Linked DNA regions of Homo sapiens: all the other regions are linked to region 1. The links are contacts of gene promoters, found by promoter capture Hi-C in blood cells and fetal thymus (Javierre and others, 2016). All regions are on one chromosome and are shown on one strand. The core of a region is centred on a gene start or on the middle of the fragment in contact, and the rest is flanking DNA. Distances in the headings are between cores, read along the strand shown.

Region 1 (5,208 bases), core at 1,471-3,970:
GAAGAGGAATTTGGGTTGTTAAAACCATTTTTAAAGGTCACTCTTAGCTTAATCCTTCAAATCCCACACAATGCCTTCTGGATAATTTGCATTTTTAAAAAAACTTCTAAAACGCACGCACCCAAATTACTGTTTTCCCACTTCTTAGGGACTCAAGCAAAGCTTTTAAAATCACAGCCATCAATCTATGTTGGAAGAGACTGGGTCTCCCCTACACAGACAGAACACACCTTCGGGATCCGTGCCAGGGAGACAGGAGAAACTTGGAAGAAGACAGAGACTAAAAGATCCCCCGACTTTGAGACTTTCGGCTTTTTTGTGGTTTGTATCTTACCCTCAATAGCCTGCTTTTAAGTTCAATAACAATGCTCCTTGAGAAAAAAAGAAAAATAAAGAATGCTCCAGGTTATTGTGGAAATGCTTGTTGGGAAACTTCCTTTCCTCAGGGTTTTTCATATAAGCAAGGGAAAAAGTTAACACAACATCCAGAATAGTGGTTCCTTGGGTGGGAGGCGAGAAGTGAGTGGAAGGCAATGGAGAGGGGTACTCAGGGGCTCCAGGGGCCTGGCGATGTTCTAGTTCTTCAGCCGGGTGACTCGTACTTGGGTGTGATCTATTGTTATTCTTTACATTGCACTCTAAGGTTTATACTGTCTGAGTGTATGATGTATTTCACAGTGGCAGCACCAGCATCTCTATACAAGAAGGAGGCCTTGGGAGTTGGAAGTGTGCCTTGTCTCTAAGCTGAGTTGGATCGCAGGCAGTCTGCTTTTACATGGAGCATATGCTTATCTGGAAAGGCTTTGGGGAGGCTGATGAGTTTAAGTGGGAGACTAAGATTAATTTTTGGTGCCACCATGAAAAAACAAGGAGTTAATAAATTCACATTTTTAAAAATTACCATTGGTTTATACCTCCCAACACTGCGACTAGTTGTTTTCTGGTCTCTTTAATTCCTCTTCATCCCTCTTCTACCCTTCCCCCATGTCCAGTATGACCTAGAGGGCAGAAAATACTCCCCAATTTTAATTTGTATCCCTAATTTTTAAAAAATTTTTTGTTACCATATGCTAAACAAATACTAAAGATGACAAAGTGTAACATGTATCGGTATAGACACACCTACTACACTCAAGAACAAGGCTGCAGACCAGTACAGTGGCTCACACCTGTAATCCCAACACTTTGGGAGGCTGAGACAGGAGGAGTTCGAGACCAGCTTAGGCAACACAGTGAGACTCTGTCTCTAGTAAAATAAAAAAATTCAAAATTAGCCAGGTGTGGTGGTCCCAGGCTGAGGTGGGAAGATCGGTTGAGCTAAGGAGGTCAAAGCTTACAGCCTGGGCAACAGAGCGAAACTCTGTCTCAAAACAACAACAACAAAAACCCCGCCAAGGCTGCTATTGGTGTTTTGGGGATGAGAAACCCCCAATCAGTATACCATGGATGGGACCACCTTGGACCCAGGTGTGTTTGTCTTCATTGCCCAAGTTCTTTCCACTTACACTGGCCTAACAGAACCTAAGCATGAATGAATTCAACATCCAACAGGTTCGCAAAAGGTGTCTAACACACAAGAGTACAATGCCAAGCATTTCATTCCCATCACTTCACTGCATGAACACAATACTACGAGGTTATGTACAATACCTGCAGTTTAGAGTTCTAAAAACTAAGGTTTAAAGAAGTGGGTTTTCCAAAGTCACACACCTAACAAGTGGTGGAGTCAGAACTCCATCTCACGGGCCCGAAGTGGCTCTTTACTACCACGTGACCCATCTCATGCTACCTCGCGGGGGAAACATTCTTGACCAGCTTTGAGACATTCAAGTCCCTCTTGGGTCACAAATAATGCTGCACTTCCCCTCCAGTCCCCGAGATCTACCGGAAGCAACACACTTAAAAGCCCAAGATAAGCTTGGGTGAGCTGATGTCTGGACCCAAACCAGACAGCACGCCGACTCTCTGGACCCCGGGAGATGCCACTTGCTGAGGCTTCGCCGATGGGGCTCCTGAGGGGTATCGGCCCCTCTCCTGCGACTGCACCCTAGTGCTGTCGTCCAGGGCGGGGAGGGACGGGGTCATTCGGAGGCGGCCGCAGGCCAGGGACCTACCCTCCTACGCGCCGCAGACCGCGGGGTACTCGGACCCCCGCCCCCACCGCCCTTCCTTCAAACTGCAAGCGAGCAGGAGAACGAGGGACGAGCCCCAGAAGAAAGTTCTCCACCTCCCTCGCCCGAAGTTCCATATTCCAGGGAGGCAACTGATGCCAGGCGAAGAGGGAGGCGCCCCGGGGGGACCCCCTCGCGCCGGGCGTTTTCGGAGGCCGCAGGCCAGGGGGCGAGGCGCGGTGTCCGGGTCTCCTCCGCGGGCAGTCGGCGATCCTGGGGTGCCGAGGGAGCAGCGCCCCCTTCCCCCGACAGCGTCCTCCCCGACCTGAGGCGCCCACCCCGGTGTAAGCGGGGGTCCCAGGGAGCCGGCGAGGTCGCCTGGTACCTTTCTCTCCCGCGCCGGACGTCCGCGCCGCAGGGACCAAGGCCGGCGACACGGTGGGGGGCGAGGGGCGAAGACGGGGACTGGCTCCCGCTGGCTCCGGCGGCCCCAGGGCCTCGGCGCCGCCCAGCGCCGTGCCTCCAGCCGCCCGCGCGCCAGGCAGCGCTCTCGGCTCCTGCGGGTTACCTGTGGCCGAGCCCGCCGCGTCCGCCGCCGCAGGGCCCTCTGCCCCGTCCCGCCGGCCCCGCCCCACCCCTGCCGGCGGCTCCTACGCCGGTGCCGCAGCGCCTCCCAGCGGCGAGCCGGGGCACGGCAGGGACCCTCGCGAGAGAGAGGTGGCACCGCGGAGGCCCTGGGGCTGGCCCCGATCTGCAGCCCTCTCCTGGGTGGGGCCACCGCCTTCTGAAGAGTGGGAGGAAGGGGGCCTATAGTAGGGTGAGGTTTTCCGCGTGGGGGTTGCCAGGAAGTGTATTGGGAGGGGAGGAGAATTAGCAGGAGGAACCTCCCACCTTCACTCAATTCGTGGCCAAGTGGATATTTCAATATAACCATAGCTCACTTAACTGGGGCTGCTCAGTACAAACTGAACAACAATGATGAATGACCCAGATTTATTGGGGTAGCTGGAGAGGGGAAAGGAAGCCTTTATTTCTAACAGCTTGACTATAAGTATCTTGTTGGAATCATCCCATATGGAAATGGCAAAAGCATTGAGCGAGCCTGACCCCCATATTCATATCACACTTTACATACCATTATCTCAGTCTGGTTTTGTCTATTTTCATTCACAGCCACTTCTTCAATACCTAGAAGAGCTCCCTGAACACAGGAAGCATTCAATAAGCTACTGTTGAATACATGTAAGATGGATGGGATCTCATTCCACCCTTTGAAGAAGCATGGACAGGTATCTGCTCTCCAAAGGCGGAGAGATGGAAGAGGAGGCAAGCAGCACCCTAAAATGGACTATCAATCTTACCTGAGGTTTTGGGACAAGCTTATCACGAATCTGATTTTTTTTTCTTTCTTGCTTAAAATTTTTTTTTGAGACGAAGTCTCACTCTGTCACCCAGGCTGGAGTGCAATGGCACCATCTAGGCTCACTGCAACCTCCGCCTCCCAGGTTCAAGTGATTCTCCTGCCTCAGCCTCCTGAGTAGCTGGGATTACAGGTGCCCGCCACCATCCCTGGCTAATTTTTGTATTTTTAGTAGAGATGGGGTTTCACCATATTGGTCAGGCTGGTCTCGAACTCCTGACCTCGTGATCCTCCAGCCTCGGCCTCCCAAAGTGCTGGGATTACAGGCATGAGCCACTGCACCCAGCCGACTTTTCTTATTCCCTCTGAAACAGGCCTGGTTTCCAGGAGAAAAGAAACATGATGATTTCTTCCTTTTCCTTAAGATGTTTGTTTCCCTCTCTCCTTCAGGGATCATTAGGCAGGAGAGATCCCAAGAGCCTGTTTCCACACTAGGAAGGGGAAGTTCTTGATTTTCTCCTACTGCTTCTGAAATTTTCCCAACCCCATAGTCACAGCTGCAGTTTTACCTAACAGGATGTGAAATCTCTCTTCTGAGTATCCTTTGGCCTTTTCCAGACTTTTTTTTCCCCCTTAAGATGGGGCCTTGCTGTGTCACCCAGGCTGAAGTGCAGTAGCCCACTGCAGTCTTGAACTCCTGGGCTCAAGCAATCCTCCTGCCTCTGCCTCCTGAATAGTTGGGATTACAAGTGTGCACCACCATGCCCAGCTAATTTTTTTATGTTTAACACAGAGGAGGTCAAGGCTGGTCTTGAACTCCTGGGCTCAAGTAATCCTCCGGCCTCAGCCTCCCAAAGTGTTGGGATTACAGGTGTGAGCCACCGCGCCCAGCCCTTCTTCAGATTTGTGCCCCATTCCTGTTGCTCTACACCTGGAGCTGATAGAAGAACACATTTCCTTTCTCTGCTGGCTTGTAGCTCCAGGTTTCTCTCCAGGCAGGTTACTAATGAGTTCCTAGATAACCCTCAAAGTCAAAGTTTGTACACATGACCTTTCTTTTTATTTTTTGAGATGGAGTTTTGCTTTTATTGCCCAGGCTAGAGTGCAGTGGTGCAATCTCGGCTCACTGCAACCTCCACCTTCCGGTTTCAAGCAATTCTCCTGCCTCAGCCTCCCAAGTAGCTGGGATTACAGGCGCCTGCCACCACGCCCAGCTAATTTTTTTGTATTTTTAGTAGAGACGGAGTTTCACCATGTTGGTCAGGCTGATCTCGAACTGCTGACCTTGTGATCCACCTGCCTCAGCCTCCCAAAGTGCTGGGATTACAGGTGTGAGCCACCGCGCCCAGCCACATGACCTTTCAATGTGATCATTTCTCTCTTGTACTTTTCCACATTGAGTTTTCCTAGCTAGTCCCTCGAATAAACTTCCAAAGATGCAAATGCTCAGTTTCCCTGATAGGCTTTTAAAACATCACCAGAAAGTCACATTGAGATGAGATTTTAAGTTATATTTGTGGGTAGTCAGAGCAATGACCCCGAAAGAAACAGAAAGCCCAAGCCAGCCTGCAAGACATGTGAGCGCTCCTGGGAACTGACTGGTCTGCTTTTGTTCCCAGACTTTGATTAATGGGGATTCCTGGCAGGAGGTCTCATGAGAGCCAAAGCAGGCAGTGGCTGAGCTGCTTGGAGATCTTGCTTGCTTATCTCCAAGTGGGCAGACAGTCTTTGGGCGAC
Region 2 (5,208 bases), core at 796-3,295, 450 kb after region 1:
GGCCAGGAGTTTGAGGCCAGCTTGGCCAATATGGTGAAACCCTATCTCTACTAAAAATATGAAGATTAGCCAGGTGTGGTGGCATGTGCCTGTAATTCCAGCTTCTTGGGAGGCTGAGGCATGAGAATCGCTTGAACTCGGGAAGCAGAGGTTGCAGTGTGACAAGATCGCACCACTACACTCCAGCCTGGGCGACAGAGCGAGACTCCATCTCAAAAAAAAAAAAAAAAAAAAAGAGAGAGAGAGATTTTTAGTTGATTTATAGTGGCTAATCACATTTTTTAAAAAAGTATGATATAACATGATTTGTGAGCAAAATTAATGTTTTTATCTTCAGATTCAATGAATCTTCTGAGCAGCACACACACACATATGCTGGACATTCATTTTACTAATTATCTCATTAAAAAAAAAACAAAAATAAACATTTGTGGAGAAGCCCCATTTTGGCAGTCTGTGTTATAAGGACTGGAGATACGGCTGGGATGAAAACAGACAAAATCCTCTTTCTCTAGAAGGGAAAAATAGGCTATAACAATCACAGCAAACACAAAATGGTTTTTTTTCCATGTGCTTTACATGTATAAACTCATTTAGTTCTCCTAACCATCCCATGAAGTAGGTGCTATCATTATCTCCATTTTATAGGGGAGGGAACCAGTGCACAGAAAGGTTAAGTAACTTGATGAAGTTGCACAGCTAGTGAGCATTAGAGCTAGGATTTGAACCCAGGCATGTGGCTCCACAGGCTACACGCTTAACTGCTATGCTATTCTTTCTATAATTAGCTCCTCTATTCTATGTATTCTGGTGACACAAGGAACCAAAAGTTTTCCTTTTCCTTTCTCAAATATTTTCAGTTTTTGCTTCAGATATTTAACTATTTGAACGCTAGGGCCAGGTGTGGTGGCTCTTGTCTGTACTCCTAGCACTTTGGGAGGCCCAGATGGGAGGATGGCTTGAGCTCAGGAGTTTGAGGCCAGCCTGGGAAACATAGTGAGACCTTGTCTCTACAAAAAATTTAAAAAGCTAGCTGGGTGCATTGGCATGCACCTGTAGTCCCAGCTACTGGGGAAGCTGAGGTGGGAGGATCACTTAAGCCCAGGAGGTAGAGGCTGCAGTGAGCTGTGAATGAGCCACGGCGCTCCAGCCTGGGCGACAGGCAAGACCCTGTCTCAGAAAAAAAAAAAAAAAAATCCAGACACTTAAAATCACAGTTGCTCTTAAAAGCATAGCTTTGATTTAGATTGACCTGGAATAAGTTCCATGTCTGTCACTCAGTAGCTGTGTGATTATGAGCAAGTTTCTAAATCTCACTAAAGTTCTCTTTCCTCATTAGTAAATGAAAATAATCGTTTACCTCCTAAGGCTGTTGTGAGAATTGAGGATAATATGCATGAAAATCATTTGATCCTGGCACAAAGTAAGTGCCCAATGAATGGTTACTTTTATCCAGTCATACATTCATTCAATCAGCAAATATTTGTTGAGCATCTGCTATGTTCCAGGTATTGTTCTAGGTACCGGGGATATAGCAGTGAGTAAAACAGACAAAGATCTTGCTCTCAAAGCAATTCCATGGCTTTTTAGCCTTAATAAAATGTGCTTAATCTTATTAAATTTGTTTATATTAATTAAATTGTAGTTTAAATTTCTATTTATTTTTTAATTAAATTGTGTGGTATATAGTTATTTAAATGCATTTAATATTATTTTTAAAGCATTAGTAAAGTTTGTTTAATCAGTTATTCCCTCTTTTCTCCACTGGCTTTTTGTCATAGTCACTTAAATGTAATCAAATTTCTTTTATATTTATTTCTTTTCTTTTTTTTTTTTTTTGAGATGGAGTTTCGCTCTTGTTGCCCAGGCTGGAGTGCAATAGCATGATCTCGGCTCACCACAACCTCCGCCTCCTGGGTTCAGGCGATTCTCCTGCCTCAGCCTCCCGAGTAGCTGGGATTACAGGCATGCGCCACCATGCCTGGCTAATTTTGTATTTTTAGTAGAGATGGGGTTTCTCCATGTTGGTCAGGCTGGTCGTGAGCTCCCAACCTCAGGTGATCCACCCGCTTTGGCTTCCCAAAGTCCTGGGATTACAGGTGTGAGCCACTGCACCTGACTTATTTCTTTTATTTATTTATTTTTGTTTTTTAATAGAGACAGGGTCTCGCCATGTTGCTCAGGCTGGTCTAGAACTCTTGAGCTCAAGCAGTCCTCCTGCCTCAGCCTCCCAAAGTGCTGAGATTACAGGCATGAGACACCATGCCTGGCCACATTTCTTTTATATTAAAAAATCCCTGAATCAACCCTTTGACTTCAAGTTAGCTGACAGTGGCTGCTTTAGTTCCTTGCTCCCTTTGCTATAGATATTATCTCACTCACTGTCTCCACTCTCTAGGTTGACTTCATGACTTCTCATTCATACTCCAGAGCACTGGAAGCAGTCTCTTGTTTCTTGTGGAGAGGTCACGTTATGGCAGGCTGTGTTCTAAGGACTGGAGATATGGCTGGGATGAAAACAGACAAAATCCTCTTTCTCTAGAAGGGAAAAATAGGCTATTGCTGTAAACAATAGGTATCACTCTCAACAAGGTCACCCCCTTCCTTAAAACCATTCAATGACTCCATATTTACCTCAGTGACTCATGTTTACTTGATGAAGTTGCACAGCCCCAGATAAAGTCCAAACTCTTTAAAGTGGCATGTGGGCATGTTCCCTCCCTCCCTAGCCTTCCCTCCCACCATTCCCTTTTCTACCTCCACTCCCTCCCCTGCTCACTGCCCCAAACACACACACACACACAGTTCCCATTCTATAGATGGGCTTGACATTGCCCAGAAGTACCATACTTTTATCTGTAAGCAGTGGTGTTCTAGAGTTGATTTGTGTGGGAGTGTGAGAGCGTATGGTGCATGTCTCTTCCCAATTGCATGTTCAGTGAGGTCATGGTGGGAGTAAATCAAGGAAACTGGCAAAATCTACAAATTAGGGCATTCTTGCTTCTCTCTAGAGAGTTATTAAACATTTACCAGCTCACCATAGCCCCTAGGCCTTTGCATTTATGGCCCTTCCCCTACCCTAACTTGGCCCAGCTTAAATGTCCCTTCCTCCTGGGAACTGTGTTTTGACTCTTCAGGATTGGGATAGATACCCTTCACTGTGATTCTTTGGTAACTTGGGCAGCGGCCCCACTATTTTTCCCGTATTCTATACTGGCCAAGTAAAGTCCTTGAGGTCAGGGCCCTTGTCTTGTTCATTGTTGTTCTTGTCTACCTAGGATAGTGTTTGGCACATAGCAAGGTGCTAAACTATATTTTTAAGTGAACCAATACATGAATAATTAAAGTAAGCCCTCCCTACTAATAATAGGCTTTTTATGGTTCAAGAATGTGCCTTAATCTTTGTATCTCCTGAAATTCCTCACACAGAGAAAGTTTAGTAGATGTTTGAATAGATTGAATGGACTAGACTTGAATGTGCTTTATATGAGCCTAAAACTAGGGCCCAATTTAAGATATCCATTCTAGAAGTGAGTCAATGATATTTGAGATTATGATTCTATAGAACCAAAACCTGGAGTATTGAAATATGTCACCAGAAACTTAAGATTTTCCCTGGCCATTAATTTGCCTTGATTTATTACTCTTATTTCCTTGTTTTTTCTAAGGTGATCCCAAGCTCGTTCCACTTCCTTCTTCCCTCAACCTGGCTTTTCTTTTTGAGACAGGTTCTCACTCTGTCACCCAGGCTGGAGTACAGTGGCGTGATCTTGGTGTGCGCCACCATGCCCAGCTAATTTTTGTATTTTTTTGTAGAGATGCGTTTCGCCATGTTGCCCAGGCGGGTCTGTGACTCCTGGACTCAGCCAATCTACCCACCTTGGCCTCCCAAAGTGCTGGGATTACAGGCATGAGGCACCACGCCTAGCCACCCTATTTTTAATGTACAACTTAGGCATGCTCTTTGCTCACAAAATGATACGCTCATTGAACCATGAGTAGGAAAGCAATGTGGTGCAGTAAGAAGTGCTTGAAACTTAAAGTCAGGAGACACTGGTTGTGTTCCTGTATGTCACAACTTTCTGGTCTTTTCATCTGCAATAAGAAAGATAATATCTTCCCTATCCAATTCACTACATTTTTAAAGATGAAATGAGTTAACATAGGTGAAAATGCTTCTGTAAATTGTAAAGTACTACATAGAGTAAATGCAAATTTCTCAAACAAATTGATCTTCAGCACATGCTATCATTTACTTAATAACTCCCTAGCAAGCAAGTGATATCTGCAAAGAAGTAAGAGTGATCCAGTATAGAGAGAGGTTATTTGCCTGGGAAACAGGATGCCTGTAATTAGGTAAAAATGATGGTTTCATGTTGCAAAGACTTAAAGCATCAGCTTCATATCAGATGCTACATAGGAAATGTGGGGTGATTCTGCCTGAGATGCCAAGTGTGCTATCAATCAAGAATAAAAAACAACTGGCCTAAAACACAAATGATAAGGATATACTGGTGGCTGATGACTGGAATAACAAAGCTTCATTCTCCCAAAGGATCTGATAGACTCCAATTAATTTAGAAGCATAGAATGATGTCAAATACAGATCTGTACCAAGCAACAAAGTTCTGCTTTCAAATAGATAGCTGTCAGTGAATATCTCAAATTGCAGACATCGATGCAGATATATGGTTTGCCCTTTTCTTAGTTTGGGGAGATATTTTTCCTTTGCAGAAGTTAGTTATTAGCCTCCCATAAGAGGAAGGGTTCTCGGCGTGGTCCTCCAAACAACAGCATCGTCATGGCCCCAGAGCTTATTAGAAATGCAGTATCTTGGGTTCATGCCAGACCTATTTAATTAGAATCTGCATTTCAATGCAATCCAGGTGATTGACTGCATTTAAGTTTAAAGTGCACCACCATAGGGACCAACTATTCATTTTTCAAATGAAAACTCAAGACTTGAAGGGTGATTTTTTTCCCCCTTAAGGTCTGACACACTTAAATCCCAGTTTGGATTAGAACAAAGATTTCCTGCCTCTGCTGGCAAGTTCCAGCATTGCACACCCTCTCGCAGCCTGGTTCTTTGGCTTACTGGTTGGGAGGCTTGGGGCAAGTTATTGAACCTATCGCTGAGCTGGTTTCCTCATCTATAAAATGGAGATGATAGCAATGTCTACCTCATACAACTGTGAGGATTAGGCCGGG
Region 3 (5,208 bases), core at 1,338-3,837, 320 kb before region 1:
AGTACAAGTAGTATATATTCCATATATTAAAAACTCAGTTCCAAAACATAGGTTCTTTCTACACAAAAATATTTTGAAATATTTTGAAAATATTTTGAAAATATTTGTGTATTTTTGCTATCTACAAAAATATTTTGTTAGGTAGCAAAGAGGCAAGATAAAGCTCATTTGGGCAGGAACTTGAATTTCATCTGTGATGCATGCATACTTGGTTTCATTTGATCTTGTGGTGCTAATTGATCATGAATTTCACAAAGTGCAAGACCTTCATGTTTCAGTCTGAAACTTTTCCCATCCTGTCATCATCTGGACTTCTAAAGTGTGGTAGTGACAATAGTAATGGCCATCGTATCCTCCTGCTTTTTAACGTTTTGTCAGTACTAATTATAGCCATATTCGTAGCCTTTCAAAACACCATGCGTTGTTTGCCATGTCTTTGTTCATCCCCATTTTTGATTGCATAGGAACTTTCTTTGTCCCTTAAGCTTGAACAGACTCTGGAACACAGAAGCTTCTCACCTCTCTTTATCAGTACCTTTTTGCTAGAGGAATTGCACATTGCACTTCCCAGTTTCCCCAAGGAAATAGATAGGTGTTCATTTTTTATTTTGAAAGATATCTCTGAGTATGTGAAAAGTAGGTTTAAAAGAGACTAAGATATTTTGATGCATGCCCCAGGAAGTTGTGTGCATGATCATTTCTGATCTAAAAAATGTCCTTTGGGTTTTCTGTAGAGAATTGATAATACTGGATACTTATTAGTAAATAAAATTGCCTGACCTTTATTCTATTTGTAGCTTCTACACAGCTTTGCGGAAAGAGTCTGGGACCAAACTGGTGGATGGCACTGGCCATAGACCTCACTACAGCCTTCGGACTCTGTGCCGGGCCCTGCGATTTGCAGCCTCCAATCCATGTGGCAACATTCAGCGCTCACTCTATGAGGTCTTTCTGAAGTCTCTTTGACTGGATATGAGCTTAATGGATGGGTTCATGGGAAGGAAGGAATAGGGATGCATATGCCAGGTTGCCTGTGCTTTCCAGTTAGTCAGATCAGCCCATAATACCTCTTACCAGATTTACCTTGCCCTTTTAAATTAAATATTTTACTTTTTATTTTAAAATTTTTATTTTTAATTATACATAGAGACAGGGTGTCACTGTGTTCCCACTCTGGTCTCGAACTCCTGGGCTCAAGCTGTCCTCCTGCCTTGGCCTCCCAAAGTGCTGAGATTACAGGCATGAACCACCGTGCCTGGCCTACCCTTCCCTTTATCTACCACCTTACTATATTTAAAAGTTGGGAAGCAGCATCACCCAAGAGGTTAAATTTTGTTCTGGAAATAAGTTTGGTTGTATTGCAGAAGGTTATTTAGCATTATGCATATTTGTCTTTTCTTTCTAGGGTTTTTGTTTGGGTTTCTTAACACAGCTTGACAGGGCATCACACCCAATAGTTCAGAAGCTCATCTGTCAACACATTGTCCCTGGCAATGTCAAGAGTCTGCTGAAGCAGGTATGTTCTTTTGTTATTTTTGACTTGTTACACTTGAAAGGCTGAATTACCAAATTTTCAGCTGTTTGGTTTTTTTTTTTTCACATAACTTTTTAATTATAAAGGTAATCTGTTGCAAAAAGTTTAAACATTACAGAAACATATGTTTAGATGGTGAAAGTTTCCAATAAGCGTGCTCTTTGGAGATTTAAATACTGTGGATAATCTTTCCAGATAAATTGTATAATGTATATATTTTATTTTCTTACATATCCAAATTTTGATATGTATATGTTGATTTATTGAGGTAAATTGTAAAATTGTAAAAAATTGTAATATGCGTTTAATGTAAGTGGGACTGTCTTATAAGAATATTGTTTTTTTGTTTTGTTTTGTTTTGTTTTTTTTTGCAGATAGAGTCTTGCTCTGTTGCCCAGGCTGGAATGCAGTAGTGTAATCTCAGCTCACGGCATTCTCCCCTTCCGTGGCTGAAGTGATTCTCCTGTCTCAGCCTCCCGAGTAGCTGGGATTACAAGCGCATGCCACCATGCCCAGCTAATATTTGTAATTTTAGTAGGGACTGGGTTCCATCATGTTGGCCAGGCTGGTCTCGAACTCCTGACCTCATGATCCGTCCACCTCGGCCTCCCAAAGTGCTGGGATTACAGGCGTGAGTCACCGTGCCCGGCCCATAAGAATATTCTGTAGCTTTCCTTTTTAACCTATCTGAATCTTGGATATATTTTTGTTTTTGTACCAGAGTTCATTGTGACATGCCTTCTAAGGGCCACATAGCATTTCACTGGATGGGTACACCATAGTTTCACTATTTGCATAGTTTAACTACACAGTTAGGTATAATCTATACCTTCTGATTGATGGTTGGGTCTTTTTTGAGGAGGCAGTAGTGGGGGCACTGTTAGAAACAATAGCCGTTTTGGATTTGGCAGGAAATTACAGAATAGCATGGGACTGAAAGAGGCTGAGAGAAACTTGCTCACAATCAACATGTAAATTGGCTTGTTTACTTGTTGATTGCTTATTCATTAGGAAGAGAGAGCCCTTGGGACTTGGAGTTTCTTTGGACTCAGCCTTTTAAAAAATCGTACAAGTAACACATGCGTAAATACTTTCGGTAAATTGTAAAAACATTGAGTAAAGACTCAGGTTTGCTTTTACCATTATTGTAATCAAATACCAGTCTCTTCCAGTTGGTCTTTTTGTGTGTGTATGCCTCAGGGTGTGATAGAAACTTAAAAAGATCCTTCCTCCCCTCCCCCTATTGCTTCTCAACTCAACTGAGGAGGCCTTAAAAGCAGGGCCTAGACGTGTAGCTTGAAATCTGGGGACCAAATGCTCTAGAAGAGTACTTTTCCATAGTTATAGATTTGACCACCATTTAACCATTTTTTTACTTATAAAAATGGGAATTTGTATAATCGAAACTAATAACTTAAACCATATCTCAGCAAAGTGATGCCATCATCCACAATATTATCCTTAATGGGCTAGTTGCTCTGAAAAGTCAGGTTTACTTTTAATGTCTTCTAGGCAATCCAGAGTATAATAGTGCAAAACCTCCTTCCTTACTACAACACTGGCCCTTTTTCGGGGAACATGGTTTATATGAAATTCATGTTTTTGATAAAAATAATTGGAGTGGGCATTTTGATATGTGAGAGAAGAGAACTGGTACATAAACCTTCTGGGAATTTGTTTTGATTCAGCTTTTTTCCAAACCCACCTACTCCACTTCAGTTTTAAAACCAATATATAACACCATTTTGTTCTCATTCCTCATAATTTTATGTTCATATTTCATCCAGTTTTAATGTTGAAAGTATGCAGAACAAGACAGCTTGTTCAACAAGTGGCTGTTTTCCTACTTTATGCCCTTCTCTGAAAGAATGTACAACTGTGGGTTATTCCTTGAACTTCTGTGTCTTTCAGCCTATTCCAGAGCCAAAAGGAGGTCGGCTTATCCAGGTTGAAGGCTACTGGATTGCGGTGGGAGACAAGGAGCCTACAATAGATGAGACGTACATTCTGACATCTTCTGTGAAGCTGAACCTGAGAGATATAGTCCGAGTTGTCTCTGCAGGGTGTGTGGGCTTTTTTCTCGCTGCCCCGAACTTGATACAGGCATAGGCATTGATGACATTTTGGTCTAACTTCCTTAACTTTCAAAGAGCTTTATTCTTATTCATTGGCCAACTGAACAATTACTTACAAAAGTCAGTACTATAACTTTTTCCTGGTAGAAAACTTTGTTTCTAGTTGTGCAACTTTGGAGGGAGCACTATGGATGCAGATGATTTTATCTATCTTTAAAGTTATCTTTTGTTATTTTGCTGATAAATACCACAGATTATTCAGTAAATGGCTAAAAGTTCTACTTACAGTTTCTTACAAATGTTGCCAGCATAGTTGGAATTGCTTTCCTTAGTATTTTTTGAGGAATAATGTTTACAAAGATACTTCTCAGTGTATAGGAATAAAAATGTTCTTCTGCTTCTTGCATTTTCCAGAAATGTAAAAAGGGGAAAAAAAAGGAAAAAAAAATGCTCTTTTAATGATGCTGTTAAATGATGTCGTCATTCTTTTAAAAAAAAAAAACCAAAATAATACTTGGCCAGGTGCAGTGGCTCATGCCTGTAATCCCAGCACTGTGGGAGGCCAAGGCGGTCGGATCACTTGAGCCCAGGGTTTTGAGAACAGCCTGGGCAACACGGCAAGACTCTGTCTCTGCAAAAAATACAAAATTTAGCTGGGCTTGGTGGTGCATGTCTGTAGTCCCAGCTACTCAAGAGGCTGAGGTGGGAGGATCACTTGAGCCTGGGAGGTCGAGGCTGCAGTGAGCTATGATTGCACCACCATACTTCAGCCTGGGCAACAGAGTGAAACCCTTTGTCAAACAAAACAAACCAATACTCAGTTCTGGTTTCTCAGCTTTGTAATTTTTTGTTGTTTTAAGTTGCTTAATTGGCTAATCTTTTACAGAACCTATCCAGTGCTGATTCAGGGAGAGACATCAGTTGGTAAAACAAGCCTGATCCAGTGGCTGGCTGCAGCTACTGGCAACCACTGTGTGCGTATTAATAATCACGAACACACGGATATTCAGGAGTACATTGGTTGTTACACGTCTGACTCCTCAGGGAAGCTTGTCTTTAAGGAAGGTAGGGTTAAGATTCCATTCCATGGACATAGGTGTTTATTCTTTCACACACATTTCCTTAAGTAATATTCTTCATCCTTTCCAATTGAGGCACATGGACCTTTGCTGTAACAGCCGGCTTTTCTTGATGCCTGAGCTAAGATAGTTAAGGGGTGATGCATAAGGTGCTGGCTTTCTTTAGGTTCTGCTAATCTTGCTGGCTGTATACAGGACTAGGGCCAATTTTCAAGAGGGGAATTGAACTGCTGCTTTATTTTCTAGGAATTCAGAGAATGGGGTTAGTGTTAGCCAAAAGGAAGTTGGGAATAGTCAACAGAATGTGGTGATTTAAATGAAATTAGACTGCAGGGGAAAGATTACACAAGAAATATGAGGTATTTTCAGCCTTGGCTTCTTTTCTGTGGGGAAAAAAGGGACTATTTTAATTGAAAATTGTTCCTCCTTGATCTGCAGTGTCATAATTTGTTTTGAGGCAAGACTAGCTACAGAAAGTAATTTGCTTTGAAATTTGATGATAACCTAGGATTTGTTGATT
Region 4 (5,208 bases), core at 1,532-4,031, 280 kb before region 1:
AAGGCAGGTATGTATATTTGGATCTCTGTATCAGGAACTTACCATTGCTTATATTGTGTCCATTTACACGTAATAGATTTACAAATGTTTTGTATTAATTTAGTAATTATTAACAATCAGAACTTGTGGGAAAGTTTGACCTAGAAAGTAAAATGAAGCTGAGGTAAAGTATTCAGAATAGTTGATCCTGAAAAATCAAATAGGAAAAAAATTGGTTACGTTGCTTTATGGTTTATTTTGTGTGTAATCACCTATAATGATAAAACAGCATGTAAAACTTTTATTATTACTGGCTATTTTTTTACTCAATAATTTCTCAGGAAATTGAGCATTTTTAAACTGAAGAATAGGAGTCTGAATTCATAGGATGTGTTTATTCATTTGTGTGGAGATGGAGGAAATATATCATCCTGTATGCCATCCAATTAACATGGAAATTTCTCTCATTTTGTGGTGCCACTTTCAGAGTGGTGGTGAGCATGCTCTTAGGGAGGATTCAACCTAAAGGCCCACAGGCTGGGTCTGTCACTATGCTTGTCATTCTTTATTTCCAAAGCCTGCTTGTAACTGATTACAAAGTGTTGATTCCTTATAGCCGAAGAAATCAGACATCCCACTTCTTGGCCAGCAAACATTTTATCTGTGGCGGTGGGCCACTCATTTACTTTCTTCATTGTTGATTTGATCTGTCATTTCTCACTTTAAGCCTGCCATTTGAACTTGAAATCCTTTACTCATTCACTCTAATTATAAAAGATATCCGATGCAGTCATGTGTCATATATTTTTAAATGGGTATTGTAAAACTCACCATTGAGTTATGAATTTCTATTATAAACACTATACTGAATATATGTACTTTTAATCACCGTGACAACACTGCATTATAGGAAGGATTATCTACATCTAATAGATGAGGATGTGAATATTCAAAGAGACAAAATTACTTGCCTACAGTTTTACAGTTAGCAAGTGGTTGGACTATGGTATGTTAAGTCTAAACCTCGTTACTCCCTCATCTTTAGAAGTAGAAATCCAATGTGTATTACCTTGTGATATGAAAAATGGTCATAAAACAGTTTCCAACCAAAAAGATCAACTGAAAAATTTCGAGGGAAGGGCTATATAAACTATAAAGCATTTGGCAAGTAATTACCAGTTATTACTATATTACTATAATCATATGATATGCTCATTATAAAGGAAGCCCAGTTTGCACTGTGTGAAGTTATAGCACTTTCATTTAGTATAAATGCACTGATAGGTGGGAAACGTCCTCCTTCTGCCATTTGAGAAACCGTAATACAGAAAAATCATTTGCCACCTCTATCACCCTAGAGTCAACCCTGAGTAGCTATTAATACAGAGAGCCATTAAAACGTATTTTCTGTCTTAAACTTAACTTTCCTATCTGTGTTTAAACAGAAGCAAAACATTCTTCTATTTATTCTTTTATGAAATCTTAAAAACCTTGGCTAGAAGTATCAAGCTTCCTTTTCATAAACTTAATTCTTTGTTTGAAGTTAAGTGCTGTGGATGGTGATTCTTCCCTGTGACATTTCAGAGTTTGCCAAACTTGTTGAAGAGTTCCGAAGCTTTGGTGTGAAGCTTACGCAGTTGGCCAGTGGCCATAGCCATGGCACATTTGAATGGGTTGACAGCATGTTGGTTCAGGCCCTGAAGTCTGGAGACTGGCTTCTGATGGACAATGTTAACTTCTGCAAGTAAGAACCTTATGCCTAATCAGTGGTCCAACTTGAAATTTGGGATATGCTTGTCAAAGTAGAAACCCAGATAGAAGTGCTGGTATTTTGAAGCTACTGTTTTTCTTAATTACGCAAGCGTCCTCAGCCATATTCTGTAGACTTCTCCCTGTGGTGAACAGTGGTAATTCGTCATCAGACAGTTATAAGATTTCAGCTCTGTATGATAATTTTCAGCCAAAGCAAAGGCTAACAAAATTGGATTATTTTTCCTGGCAATGTCCTTTGAGTTAGGCCTTTTAATTTAATATCAGAAGTCTTCCTTTTGTTAGGGTTTCTTCAGTGCAGTTTTTTCTAATGCAGGGTCTGACACAGGGCAGGCATTTATTAAATGGCCATCAGTGATGCAGCAATTCAACCATGTATCATTCTTGATCTTGCAGTAAGGTAAAGGACAAGTGTGAAACTATTGTACATATACAGTTAACATAGAAGCTACTACAAGTTAGATGATGACTATTTCTTCACGGAGCATTTATCTGAATGTTACAAATTGAAATCCAGCTGCCTTAAATGGATTTGATAATGTTGAGGGATGGGGGGCAGGAAAGGAAAAAGTGAAAAGGTTATAGTGCAAGGAACTTATCATTTTCTTTAATTTCATTTATTCAAAAATATCTTGTGTATTTACTGTGTATAAGGCCCTGGGCTATGTGCCTAGGGAAGCGAGAAGGAAAATCAATGGGGAATCTACTTTTGAAAGAGATCACTGTTGTATCTGGGTGAATGATTGTGCCGAAAGGAAATGTGAGTCAAAAGCATTTGGAGCCCCGTGCATGGAAGGAAAGAAGAGTCAATGCAGCATGTCAGCCTATCCACCATCTGAATTCTGTCTCTGCAGCCCATCAGTGTTGGATCGTTTGAATGCTTTGCTTGAACCCGGAGGTGTCCTCACTATTAGTGAGAGAGGAATGATAGATGGATCCACTCCCACGATAACACCAAATCCCAATTTCAGGTATTTGTATCTCTTACATTTCTGCCTCAGAATCTGACAGCCTCAGTAGCAGAGGTAGACGTTCAGTAGGACTTCCTTATATATTTTATTTATAAACTGAATCATGGAGAAGTTCACCCATTTATTAATTCACTTAACAAATACTTACTGAGGCTTTACTATTTGCCAGGCATTGCTGGGCTCTGGAAACACAGCATAAACAAGAGGGGCAAGGTCCTTGCCTTGCATTGGTGACGAAGGTGGGAAGCAGAGATACCAGTCATGATCCTTTTGCAGTAATTTAGGCAACACATCACAGTGGCTTAGATGAGGGTGGTCAGATGGGTTGGTTTGCTGATGGACATGTGGGTTGAGAAAAAGAAGAATCAAGGATGACACCTATGTTTTTGGCTTGAGTAACTGGGTAAATGGGGTTGCCATTCATTGAGAAAGGGAAGACTGGTAAAGGAGCAGGTTTAATGTGGGGAGGGTCTACCGGGAATCAGCTGTTTACTTTCAGACATACATCAGAGGTGTAAGATAACTAGATGGAGATGTTGATGGGCATTCAATATATGAATCCAGTTGTTTCAGGAGACTACACTTGCTTCCTGTTCTGCTGTCTGTAGGTGAGTTAGAATAATGAATTAGTACAGCCTACTCTGGGGAATATCTGAAGGTTAAATTTTTAAAGTTCTCAGCACTAAAGGTACACTGGATATATCATACACAGTTCCTTAGGAAAGTAGGTTTAGAGAAAATCTTTTGCTATATTGATGCATGCTAGAAGTAAAAGATCCTTGGTGTGAATTCTGTGACAATGAGCCACATAGGATTTGCCCTCACTGACTGATGCTGAGCTACACCTTTGGTTGCACTGGGATTTAAAATCATTTTTTTCTTTGAATTGCTATTTTTCTAGACTTTTCCTCTCGATGGATCCTGTTCATGGAGATATATCCCGAGCTATGAGGAATCGTGGACTTGAAATCTACATTTCAGGGGAAGGGGATGCAAGCACCCCAGACAACCTGGATTTGAAAGTTCTGCTGCACAGCCTTGGATTGGTGGGGAACAGTGTATGTGACATCCTCTTGGCTTTACACACAGAGACCCGGAGCACTGTTGTAGGTGAGGTGCTTGACTTTTGGGCCTTTGCAGAGTTTTAGTCTTCAAGAAATTTATGTCATTCCATTGGACTGCTCATCAAAGATTTCGTACATTTAGTGTATATAGAAATTATCAGGAAAGCTTGTTAAAAATGTGGATTTCCAGACACCCCAAGAGATTGGGTTCAGCAGGGCAGGGCAAGGCACAGGAATCAGTATCTGAAAGACGCTTCTTATGTCATTCTGATGCAAGTAAGCAGAGGCTAACCCTCGAGTAATTCCACTTTACGCACTGAGGTTTATGAAGTTTGCCCATCATTTCTCCAGGGTCATCAACAGCCTCTTGAAGTTGGAATAAAGAGGAAACTTTGAGTTGTTTAAAGCAGACAGGTGTTACTTTTTCTAAACTTTCAATTACACAAAAAGGAACAAGATAATAAATGAAGTATTGCTTGTTGGATAACTACTCTGTGTTAGGTACCATGCAGATTGTTTATTTAATCTTTTTTTTTTTTTCTTTTTTTTTGAGACAGAGTCTCACTCTGTCGCCCAGGCTGGACTGCAGTGGCGTGATCTTGGCTCACTGCAAGCTCCGCCTCCCAGGTTCATGCCATTCTTCTGCCTCAGCCTCTCCGAGTAGCTGGGACTACAGGCACCTGCCACCACGCCCGGCTAATTTTTTTTTTATTTTTAGTAGAGACAGGGTTTCACTGTGGTCTCAATCTCCTGACCTCGTGATCCGCCCACCTAGGCCTCCCAAAGTGCTGGGATTACAAGCGTGAGCCACCATGCCCAGCTGTTTATTTAATCTTTACATTAGTTCTGCAAGGCATATGTTTTCATTTTTCAGATAAGACTCAGAGAGTTTGAGTAATTTATCAGTTAATAATAACAGCTGGAATTTGCAAATAGGCCTGTTGGATTTCAAATCCCATGGTCTTTTATGAGGTTACACTCAACTTGCCACCTTCAGTGTGTGTCAGCATTAGATTAAGGATATATGTGACCAGACTTTATCACATCTATAAATGAGTCCCCCATAATAAACTACAGACAGCCATAGAGAAACAGGGGAGATAGGAATACAAAGGTTCCTACAGGTCCTTTGTGCCCTCGGAGGACTCTAGAGTCTACTTGGAATGTTTTGTAAAGTAAGTATTTGGGTGGGGTTGACAGGAAGGAGGTTTGATGGGAGGGCAGAATTTATCCATTTTCATTGGAGATTTTAAAGACTCTATTGTTTATAGATGGCAATTTTTTTTTAATAGGTTCTCCAACATCTTCTGTATCAACTCTAATCCAGACAGCCATACTAATTGTCCAGTACCTGCAGCGAGGGCTGAGTTTAGACAGAGCCTTTTCTGAAGCATGCTGGGAAGTATATGTCTGTTCCCAGCATT

Evidence for each region. The method cuts DNA at HindIII sites, captures the fragments that hold promoters and counts their contacts. A CHiCAGO score of 5 or more calls a contact.
Region 2: a contact is called between a fragment that was not itself captured here and the fragment with the promoter of ANKRD6 in region 1, in 5 of 17 cell types (naive B cells, total B cells, neutrophils and 2 more). The highest score is 7.3, in naive B cells.
Region 3: a contact is called between a fragment that was not itself captured here and the fragment with the promoter of ANKRD6 in region 1, in 1 of 17 cell types (M1 macrophages). The highest score is 5.7, in M1 macrophages.
Region 4: a contact is called between a fragment that was not itself captured here and the fragment with the promoter of ANKRD6 in region 1, in 1 of 17 cell types (M2 macrophages). The highest score is 5.3, in M2 macrophages.

The regions. Positions count from the first base shown.
Region 1 is chr6:89,430,664-89,435,871 of GRCh38, reverse strand. ANKRD6 (ankyrin repeat domain 6) reads right to left here and starts at 2,720. Exons shown (of 16, transcript NM_001242809.2): 1 at 2,497-2,720. It overlaps LOC124901360 (a long non-coding RNA gene), which reads left to right. Exons shown (of 2, transcript XR_007059675.1): 1 at 1-2,455; 2 at 3,285-5,208. RefSeq lists a silencer at 2,449-2,928. The HindIII fragment of the contact is 1,573 bases long and covers 1,920-3,492 here.
Region 2 is chr6:88,983,584-88,988,791 of GRCh38, reverse strand. No RefSeq gene overlaps it. Among named protein-coding and RNA genes, the nearest start is that of RNGTT, 23 kb to the right of the region's middle. The HindIII fragment of the contact is 4,992 bases long and covers 1-4,541 here.
Region 3 is chr6:89,749,820-89,755,027 of GRCh38, reverse strand. It overlaps MDN1 (midasin AAA ATPase 1), which reads left to right. Exons shown (of 102, transcript NM_014611.3): 21 at 798-945; 22 at 1,406-1,516; 23 at 3,446-3,597; 24 at 4,496-4,674. Among named protein-coding and RNA genes, the nearest start is that of MDN1, 67 kb to the left of the region's middle. The HindIII fragment of the contact is 4,147 bases long and covers 514-4,660 here.
Region 4 is chr6:89,713,165-89,718,372 of GRCh38, reverse strand. It overlaps MDN1 (midasin AAA ATPase 1), which reads left to right. Exons shown (of 102, transcript NM_014611.3): 43 at 1-7; 44 at 1,564-1,723; 45 at 2,604-2,720; 46 at 3,622-3,830; 47 at 5,077-5,208. Among named protein-coding and RNA genes, the nearest start is that of LYRM2, 77 kb to the right of the region's middle. The HindIII fragment of the contact is 2,343 bases long and covers 1,610-3,952 here.